Regions from separate parts of the Homo sapiens genome. Here all the other regions are linked to region 2. Evidence: promoter capture Hi-C in human tissues and cell types (Jung and others, 2019). All regions are on one chromosome and are shown on one strand. The core of a region is centred on a gene start or on the middle of the fragment in contact, and the rest is flanking DNA. Distances in the headings are between cores, read along the strand shown.

Region 1 (2,700 bases), core at 58-2,557, 240 kb after region 2:
AAAACTAGTAGTTTTTTTGTTTTTTTTTTGTTTTGTTTTGGTAAAACCAAACTAATTTTGTAAAACATATACAAAAATAGTTTTTATATATGTTTTACAAAATTAGATAACTCATAACTCATATCTAAACTCCCACTTTAGATAACCTAAACTACTTCATAAAAGGGAACAAAAGCTTAATACTTGCTATCAGAGGTATGGCAAAAGAATCCTTTTCTTCACAATTAGTTTCCAATTTCTGTCAAAACCAGCACCCTACCCTCTACTGATAATCAGACTTCTGGCAGTAGCTCACACCTGTAACTCCAACATTCAGAGGCCGAGGCAGGTGGATCACTTGAGTTCAGGAGTCTGAGATCAGCCTGGGCAACATGGTGAAACCCTGTCTCTACAAAAAAATACAAAACTTAGCCAGACTTGGTGGCATGTACCTGTGGTACCAGCTACTCAGGAGGCGGAGGCAGGAGGATCGCTTGAGCCCTGGAGGCGGAAGTTGCAGTGAGCTGTAAATTGCACCATTGCACTTCAGCTTGGGCAAGAGAGCAAGACCCTGTCTCAAAAAAATAAAAATAAAAAAGATTCTGTGGCTCCCCAAAGGTTGGGACCCTGCTATAATAGAACCTTAGCATCTCTTTTAATTATGTTCTTCTATAGGTTTTATGTTTTGATTAATTGATGTCTTTGTGGCAGTGCAGTTTGAGATATTCATTATGAAAGTCGTTAGAATAAAATATTTAAGAAGTAATGTTAGGTAGAAACCTTTAATGGTTGTAGGTCTGGAGAACATTTTAAAGTAAAATCAAGTAGATTCTCTGATAAATAAACTTAAAAACCCAGCAGTACTCTAACAGGTTAGATTTCTGTGTGTTTGTTTTTTAATGTATGGGCTCCAGAGTGTGTTTTAAAAAATACCCACTATTTCATTTGTTAAAACTCGGTATTTGCTTCCTACATAGATGGAATAGTCTTAAGATAAGTTTAAGAGCCATTTCAGTTATTATTGTACCTAGTAACAGTATTCGTTAACAGCATTTCTGTATAATGTGAAGAAGCAACTGTATTTGAATTAAAAATCACTGCTAAAGAATATATTTGAGTCATACAGTTTCTAAGGGTACAACCTGTGAAGTCAGACTTCCTGAGTTCAGATCTCTCAGCCATAACTAGCTATCTGACCTTGGCCAAGTATGCTCAAAGTCACAAAACCTTAGTTTCCTTATGTGCATGATGATTATAATACCTTTTGTACAGTTATGAGGAAACTTAGACAATGCCTGTGTTGTATGGTAAGCGTTTTCATAAATGCTGCCTACCTGTAAGTAGCATTATAGTGTGTAGTTATTGGTTAATTTCCTTTTTCTTTACCAGAAGTGTGGGTTTTGCCCAGCCTTTATACAACTTCAGTATTTCTGGTTAATCTGTCTCTCTATGGCTCTAAACTTTTCAGAGTGGTGGGGGAGTTACCAACACTTTTGTAAAAGGCCAGATAGTAAATGTTTTATGCTTTATGTAGTCTCTGTTGCAAGTACTCAATTCTGTAATTATAGCGTGAAAGCGGCCACAGACTTGTAAATGAATGAGTACAGCTATGTTCTAATAAAATTTTTATTTACAAAACCATGTGGTGGACTGGATTTGGCCTTTGGGCCATATTTTGCTGACCCTGTTTTAAACCATAAGCTTTTCTAAGAATTTTTTTTTTAATCCCAATAATGAAGTTACATAGAAAATACTTAATGGTGTGTGAAGAGAATGGTAATATGAAAATACAGTCAGTGGCTGGTATTTTGGCATCTTTTTCTTCAGACAAGCTCTTTAAACTCGCATATGTTATTCACACATGCCTCTTTAACAATTATGACAAAAATATTCTTCCTGGCTTGCATTCTGTCACAATCTGTGCAGTATATAGGGCTTAAGGTATTGTGGAAGAGCTTATGTAGATCAATCATCTGTGTTAAAAAAAAAAAAAAACCCAAAAAACAAACAAAAAAAACCTTTGACCTCAGCAGACACATAGAGGCACAATTAACTGCTAGTTTTGCAGGAATATGGTTTTACTTCCTGTTCAGATTTATAATAGACTCTACCTCCATTAGCTTAGACTGTTTTTTTGTCATTGTTGGTCAGGTTAGTATTTCGATTAATAGTATCCTGAGTCTTAACTCTTCATTTCACACTAGTTTTGACACTTTAGTTGCCCTGTCTTTCATACTTCTTGTTTTTGTTTTGAGACAGAGTCTGGCCCTGCCGCTCAGGCTGGAGTGCAGTGGCACGATCACGGCACACTGCAGCCTCTACCTCCTGGGCCCAAGCAGTGCTCTCGACTCAGGCATGCCCAACTCAGTAGCTGGGACTACAAGTCTCACTATATTGCCCGGGTTGGTCTTGAACCCCTGAGCTTAAATGATCCTTCTGCCATGGTCCGCAAAGTGTTGGTATTACAGGAGTGAGCCACCATGCCCAACCTCCTTCATGCTTCATAGCAGTCATCTGTTAGTTGTAATATCTTTTTGCACTCTTGAAGTTAATGAAAACAGATAAATGATTGTATCAAGACTGTAGTCCGGAAATAAAGCAGACTTAGAAGGCAGACGTCTACATACAACATTTCCCCCAAATGTCTATTTTGCCTTTTTATTATTTTTGTTACTAATTGGCCATCTGTTAAATAATCACAATTGTTACAGCAGTATGTTC
Region 2 (2,700 bases), core at 125-2,624:
TATAATGAGACTCCGTCTCTATAAAAAGTCAAAAAAATTAGCCAGGCATGGTGGCGTGTGCCTGTAGTCCCAGCTACTCAGGAGGCTGAGGTGGGAGGATCACCTGAGCCCAGGAGGTTGAGGCTGCAATGAGCTGTGATCATGCTACTGCACTCCAGCTTGGGTGACCGAGGAAGGCAATGTGAAATACATGTGAATTTTTTTTCAAAGAAACGAAAAAGAAGGAAGAAAAGAAAAAGGAAAAGAAGAAAGAAGGAAATCTGTGGTAGGCAGAATAATGGTCTCCCAAAGATGTCCACATCCTAATCCCTGGAACATGTGAATTTGTTACCTTACATGGCAAGAGGGGAATTAAGGTTGCAGATGGAATTAAGGTTGCTAATCAGCTGACCTTAAAATAGAGAGATTATCTGGATTATCTCATTGGACTCAATGTAATCCCCAGGGTCCTTAAAAGTGGACAGGGGTGGGGGCAGAAAAGGGGAGACAAGGCAATGTGAGTATGGAAAGAAGACAAAATGACGCAGCAGTGCTGGCTTTGAAGATGGAGGAAGAGCCACCAGCCAAGGAATGTGGGCGGCCTGCAGAAGCTGGTGGCTCTCCCCTACAGCCACGAGAAGGAACACAGCCTTCAAGGTGGCCAACACCATGATCTCAGCCTAGTATGACCCATTTCAAACTTCCGACCTCCAGAACTGTAAAATAGTGAATTTGTGTGGTTTTCCTCTGCTATTACTGTGGCAGTTTATCACAACAGCAGCAGAGAATTACTGCAAAACCTTCAGGCGGGAAAAAACAGCACAGGCTTCATCGACTCACACATTCACTTCAATAATACAGAAAACTGTCCAAGGCAAAGCACTATGTTGTGTGCCCTGCTGGGAATGAGGTAGGGAGGTATTGAGATGAAAGTTGTGCCTGGTGCCCACGAAGGTAGGTAATGGACGTGCAGAAAGAGCAGGGAGAGGTGGGACCCAGGGTGGAAACAAGAATGAGGGACTGGCCGGTCACGGTGGCTCAGCTTGTGATCCCAGCACTTTGGAGGCCAAGGCCAGAGGATTCCTTGAGTCCAAGTGTTCGAGACCAGCCTGGCAATATAGTGAAACCCGTGTCTCTAAAAGAGAGAGAATAAGGGACTTTGAGTCCTCTTTGGCCAAAAATATTTCAGTGAGGGTCTGTTTCATCCCTTCTCTCCCATCTCAGAGAAATGGAGGCTACTGCTAGTCTCACTTGCATCCTGGATTAGATTTCAGGACCTTTCCGCCAGTGATAAATGTGCAGCGCCTTAGCGGAACCTCAGCCAAAGCTATAAACTTCAACCGGCCACAAGAGTGTGCATGTGAGGTGACTGCATTTTTTTTCCCTGCCAAACCAGAATTAGCCGGTATAGGAATGAACGAGCATGAAGATTTGAAATTGCTCCGATTGGAAGGAAGCCCAGGTTAGGTTTGGGCACCTCCAAACGCACCCGTTTTAAAGCCACCTGGACTGAGGCGTCGAGCTTTCAGCTCCACCAAACGCTCACCTGGCCTGGCAGCGAGCGGCGGAAGAGCCCGGGAGCCCCTCACAGAGCGCACCGAGCCGGGCGGAGAGCTGAGCCGCAGGCACCCGCGTCTCCAGGATGATAGGCGACATTGCAACAAATCTCTACACCCAGCAGCTCAGGGGGCTCCAAGCAGAGCAGCAAGTTCGAGGATCCGGGCGTGGAGCCGAGTGAGGCCGCAGCCCAGCGGGCCTCGGGCGGTGAGTATCCGAGGCCGCGCGCGCCGCGGGCCTGGGGAATGGAGCGACGCCGGGGGCATCGGAGCCTAGGTTTCAGATGGCCGCTGCACCCCCAGGGACCCCCGGGAAGGGGCAGCCCCAGCCCAAGGCAGGCTCGGGAAAGGCTGCCCGGGCGGTGGAGGGCGAGACTGTGCCGGGGCAGGTGGTAGTGCCAAGGCCGCCGCGGGGGCTTGGGAGCTGCGGGCGGGCAGGGTAACCGGCGGTTCAGGGCAGACCGCCAGGCGGAGCTTGGGGACGCGCGCCTTGCTGCTCAAGCTGGCCGGGGCCCCGCGAGCGTCATCCTGGGCACCCCCGTCCGGCTGGAGAAGCGCGTTCTGCCCGGAGCCCAGCCTCGCTGCCCGGCTGCTCTCTAGGCCCGTTTGGGACTCGAACTGGACAGTGATGAGGCGCAGAGCGGGGGACCCGGGGCTGCGCCTAGGGACTTCGCGGGGTGCGGATGCCTCTCTGCACAGGCTGTGGTGCTGCAGCCGGCCCAGCTTCCCCGGTGGGCTGCTGGCTTCCGAACGCGCCGAGGGATGCGGGGTGCCCGAAGTGGGGATGTGGTCTCGGGGTGCCAAGGGAGCGGGAGCACCGAGCGCGGGTGGGGGCGGGCGCTCGAAGGGTGGGGCGCGAGGCCGGACCCCGCGGGCACGATCCCGCACCCAGGGCGCGCAGAGGCTGGGCCCCCTTAGCGCTTCCGATTGAGGCTCCTCAAGAGAGGCTGAAATGGGGTGAGAGACCGGGGACGGCCATTTCGGGGCTAAACGCTGCCAAGGCCATGACGATGTTTTAGGAGCTGAACTCTGCTTTCCAATTAAGCCATTTTCTTTCTGAGGAAAAGTTGATTCGGGCTCATTAACAAGGATGACTGAGGGCCATTATTGGGGCTTAGAGAGATTCTCCTTTGCCTTGTCTGGCTTCTTTGTTTGCATGTGCGTG
Region 3 (2,700 bases), core at 137-2,636, 150 kb after region 2:
ACTTAGTACTTTGTGAGCTTCAAGTGCCTAATCTGAAAAATTTGATTATTACCACCTAATGTAGAGTCAGTTGTCATTTATATGCTAGACATTCTGTATTTAGATTAGGCTCCACAGATGAATTGGAACACAAGGCCCTTTCTCCACTTGTTTACAGTACTGTGGACCATTGCCTCATTTGTTAAAACTCTTTTAACTCGAACATACCTCTGTTATATGCATAGGTATCCTACTTGAAACATTTGACCCAGTGGCTCATGCCTGTAATTCCAGAACTTTGGGAGGCTGAGGCAGGAGGATCACTTGAGCCCAGGAGTTTGAGACTAGCCTGAGCAACTTAGTAGAGACCTTGTTGCTACTAAAAGTAAAAAATTAGCTGGGCATGGTGGCACATGCCTGTAGTCTTCAGCTACCTGGGAGGCTGAGGTGAGAGGATTGCTTGAGCCTGGGAGATGGAAGCTGTGCTGAGCTGTAATTGTGCCACTGCACTCCAGCCTGGGTGACCGTGAGACCCTGTCTCAAAAAATTTTTTTTTTTTTTTAGTATACAATAGTATTCCTTAGTTGATTATGAATTCTTTAAAGTCTTTAGCCCTCACCCTTTTTTTAACTTTTATAAGGACACTAATCCCAAGTAGTGTCCCTTTTTATCTCTGCATCTAGCACAGTAGCTGGCCCATGATAGGGATTAAGCGTTTGTTGACAGAATAAGTCTTGTGAAAATAAAATAAGATACTGTAAGTGGAAATATTTTGTAATGGCTTAATGTCCTATTTTTAAAATTTTGATTCTTATTTTGCATCGTTAATGCTAAAATGACTTTGAGACTTTTAGTCAGTATATATTTTGGAGACTGCAAGTTACTTTAAATCATACATTTTAAAAAGAATTAGGGCAAGCCATTTTGTTACTCTTTAATTGACCATTATGTGCATGTAATAGTTGATAAAGTACATTGAGGACCTAAATAAGTTTTTTTTTTGAGATTGAGTTTCGCTGTGTTGTCCAGATTGGAGTGCAGTGGCGCAATCTTGGCTCACTTGTAACCTCTGCCTCCCGGGTTCAAGCAATCCTCCTGCCTCAGCCTCCCGAGTAGCCGGGATACAGGTGCCTGCCACCACACCCAGCTAATTTTTTGTATTTTTAGTAGAGACAGGTTTCACTCTGTTGGCCAGGCTGGTCTTGAACTCCTGACCTCACGTGATACACCCGCCTTGGTCTCCCAAAGTGCTGGTATTACAAGAATGAACCACTGTGCCTGGCCAATATGTTTTAATGCAGTGCTAAATGATTAGTGTTTCCAATTTATAATAGTATACATCATTGTAGTTTATTCTGTTTGTTTCTTTTTAGAGAGCATGTACATATTTCTATAAATATGGTGTTATTACCCATACATGGATTTTTGAAGGCTATTTATAAGCCTAAGTGTCCATCAACAAGCCTTCAAGACTTGAAGTTACAGCATTTCAGTGTGTATTTTAATCAACTTGTTGGCTGTCATAACCAATGAGTTCTACCCTGACTTCAAAACTCCTACTCACTCTAGCCGTGGGCAGTGCTCTGAATAAATAGATGTACCTTGTGCTGTGTTCTTAAGGTCAGATGAACTTAATTTAAAGATTTTATACTGGTAAACATGTGCGATGCCCTGGAAACCTAAAGTGAGTTTTCACAGTAGCCCATCTCTTGAAATTCTCTCTTCAGTTGTAATTTAAGCTACTTTGTGTCCTTAGAGAGCAGGTTCATAGAGATCATATGAATGTCCCCTACTTTTTTTGATTCTCAAAAACCAAGTGCTTCTAGTAGCCTTGTAAATAGGAAATATATGCAAATGCTGTCAACTTCTCAGACCCCAGTGTTTCGTAATTCTGTTTTACATCCTTGGCTGCAATCAGATTGAACTGTTTCTTCCTCTCTGAACACACCCAGCAACTTTTTAGCATTTTTGCTTTGGTTTTTTGTCTACTTGAATTGACACCCCCTCTCACATCTTGTATCTATTATTTTTATTATTATTTTTATTTTTTGAGGCAGAGTTTTGCTTTGCCGCCCAGGCTGGAGTGCAGTGGTGCGATCCCGACTCACTGCAGCCTCCACCTCCACCTCCTTGGTTCAAGCGATTCCCTGCCTCAGCCTCCTGAGTAGCTGGGATTGTAGACTGGTCTCCAACTCCTGACCTCAGGCAATCCACCCACCTCGGCTTCCCAAAGTGCTGGGATTACAAGTGTGAGCCACCGCGCCTGGCCTGTATCTCTTAGAAATATATATACTTACACTTAACTTTCTTCCAGTGACTCCTTTAAAATTTTTACTCCTTACTCTCCTATTCTCCTTCTGTAACATATTTCAGGATGACTTTCACGTTCTGTCTTACATAATTAGTTGTTTACATTTTAACTTAACTGGGTTTTTGGCCTCTTCAAGGTAGAGATCTCATTCTTTTATCTTCACAGTGTCTAGCACAAGGCTTCCAACATAATGCATTGTACATGGTAGGTGTACGTGGTAGTGTGTTCTGGTGTGACACATTGAGAAACGATGTTGTGAAATAATATTAGCATCGTTTGCCATAATTTACTTGCTTGTTTTCATTTTTCAGGGGTTGGCAGCTGAGTGTAGAATATAAATTTTTCAAAATTAGGCTCATTAAAATCAGCTACTTAAGGAATTGTTAAGACCCTAGAATATTTTAGTTAGT

The links. Contacts are between HindIII fragments. The study calls those that stand out against the background at their distance.
Region 1: a fragment that was not itself captured here is called in contact with the fragment with the promoter of SLC16A14 in region 2 in 1 of the 25 tissues and cell types used here (adrenal gland).
Region 3: a fragment that was not itself captured here is called in contact with the fragment with the promoter of SLC16A14 in region 2 in 1 of the 25 tissues and cell types used here (bladder).

The regions. Positions count from the first base shown.
Region 1 is chr2:229,831,162-229,833,861 of GRCh38, reverse strand. The region is part of intron 6 of TRIP12 (thyroid hormone receptor interactor 12); the gene reads left to right. Among named protein-coding and RNA genes, the nearest start is that of TRIP12, 89 kb to the left of the region's middle. The HindIII fragment of the contact is 5,189 bases long and covers 1-2,700 here.
Region 2 is chr2:230,067,598-230,070,297 of GRCh38, reverse strand. It overlaps SLC16A14 (solute carrier family 16 member 14), which reads left to right and starts at 1,374. Exons shown (of 5, transcript NM_152527.5): 1 at 1,374-1,743. All of the region lies in intron 1 of LOC107985995 (a long non-coding RNA gene), which reads right to left. RefSeq lists enhancers at 1,311-1,370, 1,381-1,500, 1,896-2,666 and silencers at 1,731-2,000, 2,271-2,520. The HindIII fragment of the contact is 6,778 bases long and covers 1-2,700 here.
Region 3 is chr2:229,913,534-229,916,233 of GRCh38, reverse strand. The region is part of intron 1 of TRIP12 (thyroid hormone receptor interactor 12); the gene reads left to right. Among named protein-coding and RNA genes, the nearest start is that of TRIP12, 7.1 kb to the left of the region's middle. The HindIII fragment of the contact is 7,687 bases long and covers 1-2,700 here.